3 separate regions of the Homo sapiens genome follow, and all the other regions are linked to region 2. Evidence: promoter capture Hi-C in 16 types of primary human blood cells and fetal thymus (Javierre and others, 2016). All regions are on one chromosome and are shown on one strand. Each heading gives the region's core, a stretch centred on a gene start or on the middle of the fragment in contact. The rest is flanking DNA. Distances are from core to core; before and after follow the strand shown.

The links. The method cuts DNA at HindIII sites, captures the fragments that hold promoters and counts their contacts. A CHiCAGO score of 5 or more calls a contact.
Region 1: a fragment that was not itself captured here is called in contact with the fragment with the promoter of GALNT10 in region 2 in 1 of 17 cell types (naive B cells); the score reaches 5.1 in naive B cells.
Region 3: a fragment that was not itself captured here is called in contact with the fragment with the promoter of GALNT10 in region 2 in 1 of 17 cell types (erythroblasts); the score reaches 5.6 in erythroblasts.

Annotation. Positions count from the first base shown.
Region 1 is chr5:154,492,099-154,495,613 of GRCh38, forward strand. It overlaps the pseudogene LOC100128833 and the pseudogene LOC100271907. Among named protein-coding and RNA genes, the nearest start is that of HAND1, 16 kb to the left of the region's middle. The HindIII fragment of the contact is 5,860 bases long and covers 1-3,515 here.
Region 2 is chr5:154,188,792-154,192,339 of GRCh38, forward strand. It overlaps GALNT10 (polypeptide N-acetylgalactosaminyltransferase 10), which reads left to right and starts at 1,942. Exons shown (of 12, transcript NM_198321.4): 1 at 1,942-2,234. The coding sequence starts at 2,076. LOC124901118 (a long non-coding RNA gene) reads right to left here and starts at 1,288. Exons shown (of 2, transcript XR_007059010.1): 1 at 1,205-1,288. RefSeq lists an enhancer at 352-1,317 and silencers at 1,538-1,627, 1,718-1,817, 1,828-1,937, 2,028-2,107, 2,178-2,237. The HindIII fragment of the contact is 10,101 bases long and covers 1-2,848 here.
Region 3 is chr5:154,605,485-154,608,983 of GRCh38, forward strand. No RefSeq gene overlaps it. Among named protein-coding and RNA genes, the nearest start is that of MIR3141, 11 kb to the left of the region's middle. The HindIII fragment of the contact is 1,837 bases long and covers 967-2,803 here.

The DNA.
Region 1 (3,515 bases), core at 103-2,602, 300 kb after region 2:
TCATTCCTTTTTTGTCTCAACCATGAAAGTCTTGGGGGCTGGGGGGACCTGGCCTGGAGGCCAGGCAGCCAGGGGGACATGACTCTGGAATGTGTTGGGGAAACAAGATGCCTTCTCCTCCAGACCTGACAAGCCAACAGGACTAGGTGTGGCAAGAAAGGGCTCTGGTTATCTGCCTCCCCCCTCTGTTTCGTTTGGTCTGTCAACTCCAGCAACAAAGTGCCCCAAACGTGTGAGGCTTGATAAAGATGGGAAGGTAAGAGGGTGAAGGTAGTGGGACAACAGGGACCAGAGCTTGAGAGGTGTCCCAGGACCTCTGTCTCTGCTTTCTCCAAGAGTCTGGGAAGCCAGCAGGATACCCCTCTCTCCTTCACAGCCTCCCCCTACTCTGTGATTGTGGCCAAAACCCTTAACTTCTCTGGGTGGTTGTGTCTTCTTCATTTCAAGATGGGACAGGATAAACCCTTAATACTTAGATCCTAAATCAGAGGATTTTGACTTTGAAAAAGAAGTCTACCATCTTATTCTTCCCTTTGTATTATTTTTTTAATTCAAAAAGTAATATGGGCTGGGCCTGGTGGCTCATGTCTGTAATCCTAGCACTTTGTGAGGCCGAGGCAGGAGAATGGCTTGGGCCCAGGAGTTAGAGACCAGCCTGGGCAACATAGGGAGGCCTCATCTTTACAAATAATAATAATAATTAAAAAAAAAAAAAAGCTGGATGTGGTGGTGTGCCCTTGTAGTCCCAGGTACTTGGGAGGCTGAGGTGAAAGGATTGCTTGAGCCCAGGAGCTTGAGTCTGCAGTGAGCTGGGACCGCACCACTGCACTCCAGCCTGGGTAACAGAGTGAGATTCTATCTCAAAAAAATTAAAAAAAAAAAAAAAAAAAAAGTAATGCGAGAACCTGAGAAAGAAGAAACCATCCATAATCTTTCTAACCCCAAATAACTGTTACCATTAGGATGTGTATGTTGCCAAAATGGGGTCAGAGTCTATTCTGTTTTCCTTTTCTCACTTAGCAATGGGTGGCCGGCTTTTTTTTTTCAGGGGTGGGGGTGTCAATGAATATTATTTACTTCATATTACGTGGCTATTTGATAATTATTGATTATTGTTAGGTTTTCTAAAGGTGTGATAATGACATTGTACCTATGCTTTTTTAAAAGAGTCCTTTTAGAGACGGCGTCACAGGTGGTGGAGCGCTGGGCGATCAGGCTGCCTAACTGGCCGGCTTGGGCGTCTGGGCGGTGAAGGTGGGACTGCCTGTTCTGGGCAGCAAGTTCCCCTCTCCAGCTGCCCGCCATTCATAACATGTCCGCCAGAACCCGGGAAGCACAGGCAGGGCTGGCTTAGAGAAGACGCGGTCCCCAGCGCTTGGGCCACGGACGTCCCAGCCCGGTCCTCTGTCGCAGGAGAACCGCTGGGCCGAGCCGCTGGGAGAAGCAGGCCAGAGCCTTCCAGAGCCTCCGCCCGAGGACCTGACAAAGAGCGCCTCCTCCTCCGCAGCCGGGTTCCCGGTGGCCTTACCAGCCTCCAGCAGCAGAAGCAACGCCTGATCGAGTCCCTCCGGAACTCACACTCCAGTATAGCTAAAATACAGAAAGATGTGGAATACAGATTGCCATTCACCATAAACAACCTGACAATTAACATATATTGCTTCCTCCACAATTTCCTCAGGAAAAACCAGTGATCAGTGTTTTTCCACCAATACGACATCACTTAATGGATAAACAAGGAGTGTATGTTACTTCTCCATTAGCAAACAATTTTACAATGCACCCAGATCTTGGAAAAATTATTCAGAGTCTGTTGGATGAGTTTTGGAAGAATCCTCCAGTTTTAGCTCCTACTGCAACAGCATTTCCTTACCTATACAGTAACCCAAGTGGGATGCCGCTTTATGCTTCTCAATGTTTTCCATTTCTTCCTCCATATCCCCCAGAAGAAACAAAGAGGAGTTATCACTTCTTTATCTGTTGCTAATACTGTTTCTTCTTCAACAACAAGTCATACCACAGCCAAGCCCGTCGCTCCTTCATTTGGTGTCCTTTCAAATCTGCCATTACCCATTTCCACAACAGATGCTTCAATATTGACAAGCCAAAATGGTTTTGGTTACAAGATGCCAGATGTCTCTGATGCATTTCCAGAACTCTCAGAACTAAGCGTGTCACGACTCACAGATATGAATGAACAAGAGGAGGTATTACTAGAACAGTTTCTGACTTTGTCTCAACTAAAACAAATTATTACTGACAAAGATGACTTAGTAAAAAGTATTGAGGAACTAGCAAGAAAAAAATATCCTTTTGGAGCCCAGCTTGGGAGCCAAAAGGCAAACCGTTTTAGATAAGTATGAATTACTTAAACAAATGAAGTCTGCTTTCAAAAAGAAGATGCAAAGGCAGTGTGAACTTAGTGAGAGCTGTAGTGCAAGTGCCCTACAGGCAACATTGAAAGTAGCTGCACATGAAGCTGGGGAAGAACCTGATAATATTGTGGAAGACTTTGTGGAGGGAAAAATGGAAATAAATGATTTTCTCAGTAGCTTCATGGAAAAGAGAACAATTTGCCACTGTAGAAGAGCCAAGGAAGAGAAACTTCAGCAGGCAATAGCAATGCATAGCCAATTTCATGCTCCACTATAGACATACACTGCCAAATGGAAGAAATTAAAGCCGCTTCCTCAATATTAGGCAACAAAGTTTCTAAGAGTGGGCAGCTACAAGAATGGCGTGTAGTGAGTTATGTTATAAAAATGTGAAAGCCATTACCACTATATCCTAAGTATTTATCATTTTAGCAAGGTATTCCCTGTTACATACAGTATATGGCAGAAAATGAATATACATTCCTTGTACTTAATTTGGGAACTGCTCAGCAGGTAATGCTCAAATTTTATATTCTAAAAGAATTACACTTGCTTTATTTTTTACATTAACAGAGTACTTTTATATCACAGTTCTTTAGTATATTCTTTTTTTTGAGACGGAGCCCAGGCTGGAGTGCAGTGGCACTATCTCAGCTTATCACAGCCTCCGCCTCCCAGGTTCAAGCTATTCTCCTGCCTCAACCTCCCGCATAGCTGGGATTACAGGCATGTGCCAACACGCCTGGCTAATTTTGTATTTTTAGTAAAGAGGGGGTGTCTCCATGTTGGTCAGGCTGGTCTCGAACTCCTGACCTCAGGCGATCCACCCGCCTTGGCCTCCCAAAGAGCTGGGATTACAGGCGTGAGCCACCGTGCCCAGTCACATATTCTATTTTTAAATATGATGAACACAATTACATTTTTTCATTTATATATATATTGCCACACTCCCTCCAAATCTTTCATACTAGAGAGATCAGCAATGTTGCTTTCTTGCCCTTTCTCTTTACTTTGTTCTAATTTCAGCAAAATGTAATACAGTCTCCCATAAAAAATTTACATATTCAAAATATTGATGTAAATTGTAGAGTTTAAATTAATCCTTTTACATTCTAGAATGTACTAGTATATTAAAACCAT
Region 2 (3,548 bases), core at 692-3,191:
TTTTTGTATTTTTAGTAGAGACAGGGTTTCGCCATGTTGGCCAGGATGGTCTCGATCTCTTGACCTCGTGATCTGCCCGCCTTGGCCTCCCAAAGTGCTGGGATTACATGCATTTTTAAATCTGACTCTCATTCGCCAATGGGTATAAGAAAAGCATGTACCTCACAGGGTAACTGTGAGCATTTAAAGAGGTAATGCATCTCAAGGGCTGCCTGACATAGAGTAAGCACTCAATAAAAGGTAAGCATTATTGTGATGGAAATCTAAAGAAAGAAAACAGTTCCCTGAGGAGGAGTTTTAGAAGGCTTCGTGGAGGAGGTGGCAGTTTAACTAGACACGGAAGGATGAACAAGATTTCCACCGACCTAGAGAAGGGGGTTTTATGGGTAGAAGGAGCTGCGTGGTCAACAGCACAAGAAGGAAAACACAAAGCCTGCAACAGGCTAAGCGAAGCTCAGGGCAGGGCAGGGCAGGGCACGGCAGGAGACAGAACGTTTGATCAGCCCTAGCAGGTCATAGGAGAGGAGCATGATGGACTCTAGAGCCGAGGTGATGGAAGCCTTGAAGGTTTTGCTGCAGAAATCAAGAACTGAGCTGTGATGTCAGAAAACTGAATCCCCATCGCTCAGCCTGGAGCTGGAAGAACTTGGAGGCAAGAGTTGCCAGAACGCTGGTCAAGGACTAGTGGCAGCTAGGCACGAAGGTCAGCGGCTGAGCTAGAGAAGCAGAGAATCAAGAGGACGAATGTGGGGGTGGCAGAGAGTAAGGTAGCCAAGGGGGTGCTCCGTTCCACCGCATCAGGGAGGAGGCAGCTAAGTGACCAGCGTCGAGCGCCCCGAGGAGGAGCCGCTGGCTGGCATCACCGTCGGAGTCCGGCTCCACGGCCCTCCGCATCGCCCAGAAGCCCGACTCCTCTGTCAAAGCCCTCGCCACAGTTACAGACACATTGCCTGGTCTAGTGAAATTACGTGTTTCATGTTTCAGCTCCCAGACGTCAGGGCTCAGGTCTGTTTTCATTTCATCCCAGAGCCTGGCACAGTGTTTGGCACATAGTGGCGCTCGCCAACGGTTTGCTGAGAGCTTTCCGGGAAGGGCTCAGTGCGCTTAGGATCCAAAAGCACGCGTGAGAATGCAGGGCATTCTAACTCCAAGGGGGTTGGACTTGCGTGAGGAAAGGTGCTGCAGAGAGGCTACCGTCACTTACCCACCCGCCGGTTTGCAGGATCTACAGACGGGCGGCGGCCGGGCACAGCTCCCTACAGTTTGCAGAGGGCGTTCACACCTAACGCCAGGGCCCCCCTAGAGGAAGAAAACCAGGGCCCGCCCGCGGAACAGTGAGCGTGCAGCACGGCTGTGGCCCCGTTTCATGGCCGGGAACACCGAGTCGCCGGGGTCAAAGTAGGTCCGCAGGTCCTGGGGGCCGAGCCTAGGTGGGCTGGAAGTGACAGCCCCGGGGGCTCCAGGCTCAGAACGCCCGGCGGGGCCCCAGCACTATTTGCATATCCCCAGGGAGGCAGCAAAGGTTCGGCTGCAGTCCCGGGCGGAGGTTGCCGGGCGGGGCGGCAGGGTACCCGGGCGAGCGGACATGCACCCCACCCAGCGGTGCCCAGCCCGCACCAGTTAGCGCCCAACTCGCCAACTCCGGGACTTTCGCAAAGCTCCAGAGGGCGGGGGAGCCGCCGAGGAGTGGGACGGACCATCGCGGCTCGAGAGGGGGGAAGCGCTCCGGCCCGGCATCCTGCAGCGCCCGGGCGGGCCGAGACGCTCCGTGAGAGGGCCGAGCCTGCAGCGCAGAGACTCGGCGGTCGACGCGGGGGCAGGCGGCGCGGGGCGGGCGGCTCGGCGGGGCCCGGGGGCGGTGGCGGCGGCGACGACCCCCTCGTGGCGGCGGCGTGGTGGCGGCGCCCAGCTCCCCGGCCGGCGAGCGGCGGAAGTGCCGCGGAGTTGGAGCGGGGCCGGCGCCGCAGCCGCTTCTGCTGGCTGAGCTGCTGCCGCCGCCGGGCGGACGGGCGGACGCGCGGAGCTGGGGGCGGCGCGGCGGGGCCGGCGGGGCGCGGCGGGGCTGACCGGCCCCGATGAGGCGGAAGGAGAAGCGGCTCCTGCAGGCGGTGGCGCTGGTGCTGGCGGCCCTGGTCCTCCTGCCCAACGTGGGGCTTTGGGCGCTGTACCGCGAGCGGCAGCCCGACGGCACCCCTGGGGGATCGGGGGCGGCGGTGGCGCCGGCGGCGGGACAGGTGAGTCCCCCCGTTGCTACAGGCCGGGAACACCCCCTTCCCGAATTCACTTTTAGCCTGTGGTTCCTTCCTCCACCTTCTGCTGTCTGCCTCCTCAGAGTCAGCTCCGAGACTCTTCAGCTCTTCCCATTTTCCGGATGGGAAAATTAAGTCCTGTCGGGACTTGTCCAGGGTCCCACGCCAGTCAGAGACTGAGTCCGAACTAGCACTCAGGACGCTATTTCTCACCACATGTTACCACCTTCCTTTCTGTCCCCGTCTGGTATTCCTTGACGTCTTCCAGCGGATCTCTTTTGAAGGATCCTATCTGCATCCCTGTATCCCAGGATGACTCCTGCCTTGTGCCAATAGGAATGAAGATTCTGGTTCTTCTATTTGGTGTCCAGGTCCTCTCTGCTTCCCTCCTCCCACCCCCCCCCCCCCACAACCCCTACCTGCTGATCCCAGTGTTCTTTGCTCAGGTCAGCCCTTTTCCTGATTTCTCATCTGCCCAACGAGACACCCGGGCCTTCCTCCTCTCCCCATTTATTCAACACCCCCGCCCCAACTCTAGCCTTTTCCTTTCTCAGATCCTGTGGATTCCTTGCAGAATGTAAAGATCATGCTCCCTTTAAAGCTTCAAGCCCCTGGGGGTGGAGAAGGGGGTAAGCTCCTGGTCCTTGAGGGACCTGCTGCCTTTGACCTTATGGGAGTCCAGAGGTGGGGCTCTGGTGGGGGGACCCCCAAAATGTCCCAGAGGCTATTGGTGCCCAGTGTCCTGAGGATGGAACACCAGAAGCCTTCCCTATCTCTTCTGAACTTGTCTAGTCTGGTTAGTTGTAGTGTTTATTGCAGCCAAAACTGGGATCGGAATGGTTTCTGCCTCCTTTGAACTTACCCACGTATGTTTGTGTGTATGTGTGCGTGCACGCATTTAGACTAGCAGCTCCCTCATAGCAGAAGCTCTGTCACATCACTCCCACCCTCCCAGGAGGTGCTAGTGAGTGTATTGCTTAGACTGTTTCATATAGTGGAACATTTCAGGCTTTCTTACGGGATTTCTCTGGTCCCATGAGAAGTGGATAATTTGTGTATCAGGGTCAGACTTGACTGACTGTTGGCTGGCCTCGACGAAAGAGGCTGGCTTTTCTGAGATTGATGGTTTTCCTTATTCTTCCCAGTATCAGGCTGCTGTCTAGGCAGTCTGGCATCTGGAGCACAGAGGGCTCTTTGCTACAGAGCTGACCAATTTGAGCTCCGCCTGTAACTCTGTTAATTGCTGCAAAGCATCCCAGAGGGTCTCATTGATCTTTCTGGTAGAGCTTACTGTTTAGA
Region 3 (3,499 bases), core at 635-3,134, 420 kb after region 2:
CGTCTCTACAAAAACACAAAAATTAGCCGGGCATGGTTGCAGGTGCCTGTAATCCCAGCTACAGGCTGAGGCAGGAGAATTGCTTGAACCTGGGAGGCACAGGTTGCAGTGAGCCAAGATAATGCCATTGCACTCCAGCCTAAGTGACAGAGCGAGACTATCTCAAAAAAAAAAAATACCCCAGGTTTATTTCTTACTCACACTGCATGTCCAACACAGGTCAGCATGAGTTTCTGTTCACCCAGTGACTCAGGGACAGGGGCTGGTGGACCCTCCACCTTGACACATTTGCAAGATCACTGTGGCAAGGTGAAGCAAACTTGGGGACTCACACACTGGCTTATAGTTTCTACTGCTAACATTTCATGGTTAAAGTAATCACATGGATATGTCTAACCTCAAAGGGGACAGGACAGTATAATCCTACCTTGCGCCGGGAAGGAGGAGGAAAATGACTTCCACATGCCCCACAGTCCAGGGGGAGAGGCGTAAATAGGGTAAACCACAACTCTGATGGAGTTAAGTCCTTACTGTGTTACAGGAACACAGAGGAGAAGCAACTTTATTGGGAGGCCTAGGGGGGCCTTCATTGCCCAGGTGACCTGTGAGCCTAGCATGGAGATCAGGGGTTATTAAGTTGGGGTCCAAGGATCCATAATTGCATGGCTGGCCTTCAGGGACCCAAAACTTCCTGAAACTTCAAAATCTTGGATGTAGGTGAGTTTATGCATTTTCGCAAGAAGAAAGTCCTTAACTTTCATTATCTAAGACTTGGGCTGCCAGATGGTCACTACGTCTTTCTTCTGACTTTTGTCTTTCTATTATAGTGTACCATATCTTAAAGTGCAATGCTCAAACCACCCGCAGCAGACAATCTAGACAGTTGTCAAAAATGCATAGCCCAAGGCCCAGCTCTGACCAACTGAATTGGAATCTCTGGGGGTGGTTCCAATCTGCATTTTAACAAGCTTCCCAGGTAGCCCTCATACATCTTGAAGTCTGTGGTTCTCTCAGCCAGAGATAGCACTCTCCCAGCCCAGTTAGGCTGTGAAGAAAGCACAGAGAGAGCTGAGCCACACGGTTGAGAAGAATCCTCCAAGGCCAGAGAGCACTTTACAGTTTCCAGAGGGCCACCACCTCGTGCCTTATCCAACCTCACTGCAGAACGGTGGAGTGGAGGTGCCAGCTCTCCACTGGCACAAAAGAGGTGCTCAATGAATATCACCTAGCGAAATGACAGGAAATGAAAAGAGAGCCAAACAAGACAGGATGGCCTAAAAATGACATGCCCTGAAATCAGACCACCCTGAGTTCAAATTTCAGTCTTGCCAGTTCCTAGTTGGGTAATCTCGGACAAGTTACCCTACCTCTCAGGACCTCAGCTTCCTTGTCTGTCATCAGGAATGTGTCTTTCTTCCCTCTAGGACTGTGTTGGCACACAGCACAGCTTCTCTAAAGGTCACCAGAAGGATCCTAAGTGCTTTAATAATTCTCGTGTCAGGCCTCCTCAACTCCATTCTAGAGGTGAGGGGAGGGAGTCCTGGAGATGGCTCCCCTAGAAGCACTAGAAGCATGATTCATGCCCTGGCAAAGCCCGTCCCCACCAAGCCCTGGGTCTTGTCCTCGTCTTCCCAGAGTCATGCTGGCCAGAGCTGAGACTCCATGCTATCATGTGAGCAGTCAGCCCTAGACACTCACATTCACCCCTGCCAGGAAAAGGGGATTCCTTTGTCCCTGATAACTCCTGGGGACCCACCCTGGCACAGGTAGGCAGACCCCCAGGAGGCAAGGCTGATGGTTAAATCAGGGGTTCCAGCCCACCTGTGCTGAAGAAGAACCTGGAAAGTGTGTTCAATGCCCAAATTTCTGGTCCCACCCCTGGCAATTCTCATTCTGCAGCTTTGGATTAGAGCCCAGGGATGGCATTTTAACAAATTCCCAGGGATTCTGATCTTCAGCCAGATCCCGGAGCCGCTGCTCTGACCTCCAGGTGGTTTAGAATGTGTGGTTTGGGGGCCAGGCGCAGTGGCTCATGCCTGTAATCCCAGCACTTTGGGAGGCTGAGGCAGGCAGATCACCTGAGGTCAGGAGTTCAAGACCAGCCTGGCCAACATGTAAGACCCCGTCTCTACTGAAAATTCAAAAATTAGCTGGGCGTGGTGGCAGGCGCTGGTAATCCCAGCTACTGGAGAGGCTGAGACAAGAGGATTCCTTTATTTTCTTTTTTTAATTTTTTGAGACGGAGTCTCACTCTGTCACCCAGGCTGGAGTGCAGAGGCGTGATCTCGGTTCACAGCAAAAGGAGGATTGTTTTAACCCAGGAGGCAGAGGTTGCGGTGAGCCAAAACTGCACCATTGCACTCCAGCCTGGGCAACAAGAGCAAAACTCTGTCTCAAAAAAAAAAAAAAAAAAAAAAACAATGTGTGGTTTGGAATGTCTGGTAGGCAGATGGAATCCTGGCCACCCAGGATCCTGTCCCCAACAGGGATGCTGCTTCATGCTAAGCCCTTTCCCTCTGCAGGTTGCCACCAGCCCGCCCATCTCCACCATGCCCTATGCTACCCTTCCTTGTGGCCTGAGCCTGGTGGTGGGAGCAGGTCTGCAAGGAGAAGGCACAACTGGATTTTTAGATGGATTGGGTGGTAGAATGAGTTCTGGGCTGGGGGATAAGAAATCCCAGCAGAAACCCTTCTGTTTTCTATATCCCTTTCAGGCTCTCAGAGCCTCAACTTCCTCATCTGTATACAGGGCTTATTCCCCTGATGGAAAATTAGAGATGGACACTTACCATGGAGCTAGTGAAGCTTAGGTCTCAGGGGACCTCATGTACACATGGCTCTTCTAAAGCCCTGCACCTAATTTTGTTTTCTCTTCCTTAAACAGGGGCCCATAAAATCCACACCAGGCCCTGACTGTAAGAGTGGCTATGAAAATGCCAAATGAGGGATAAAACCAGAGGGCTTTCACCTAGGGAACTCACCACCTCCAAAAGGGGAAGAGAGCCCTCCTAAGGTGCTCCTGGAGCTCCCCTCCTCACCAGCTTTGGTTTCTCCACTTTCCTACCGGATGAGTCCTGCCTCTTCCTGCCTGGGAGTTTATCAGCAGGGAGTGGCAGGGCCTGCTAATCAGGGGCTGCTCCAGGCCCCCGGGATTAACCCTGCAGACCCTGGGCCAGGGTCAGCAGCCCCGGCTACCAGTTATGCTCCCGGGTTCTCATCTGTGGATTAGATTGCTGGGGAGGGAGGAAGGGGAACTTTAGGGAGGGACTCACTGGCAGCCAGAGAGATTAAAACTAAATGAGAATACCTCACTCTCCTACTTAGAACCCTTCAGGGGGCTGCCTCTGCGTCTAAAATGAAACCCAGACCTTGCCCCACCCATCGGGCCCTGCCCTCCTCTTTGATCTCAGCCCTGGCTGTGGGGTGCTCCAGCTTCGCCTGCCTGCCTTCCTTCCCTTTCAGACCCCTTCCCTCCTCATTTGCTCTTGCCCTGAGACTT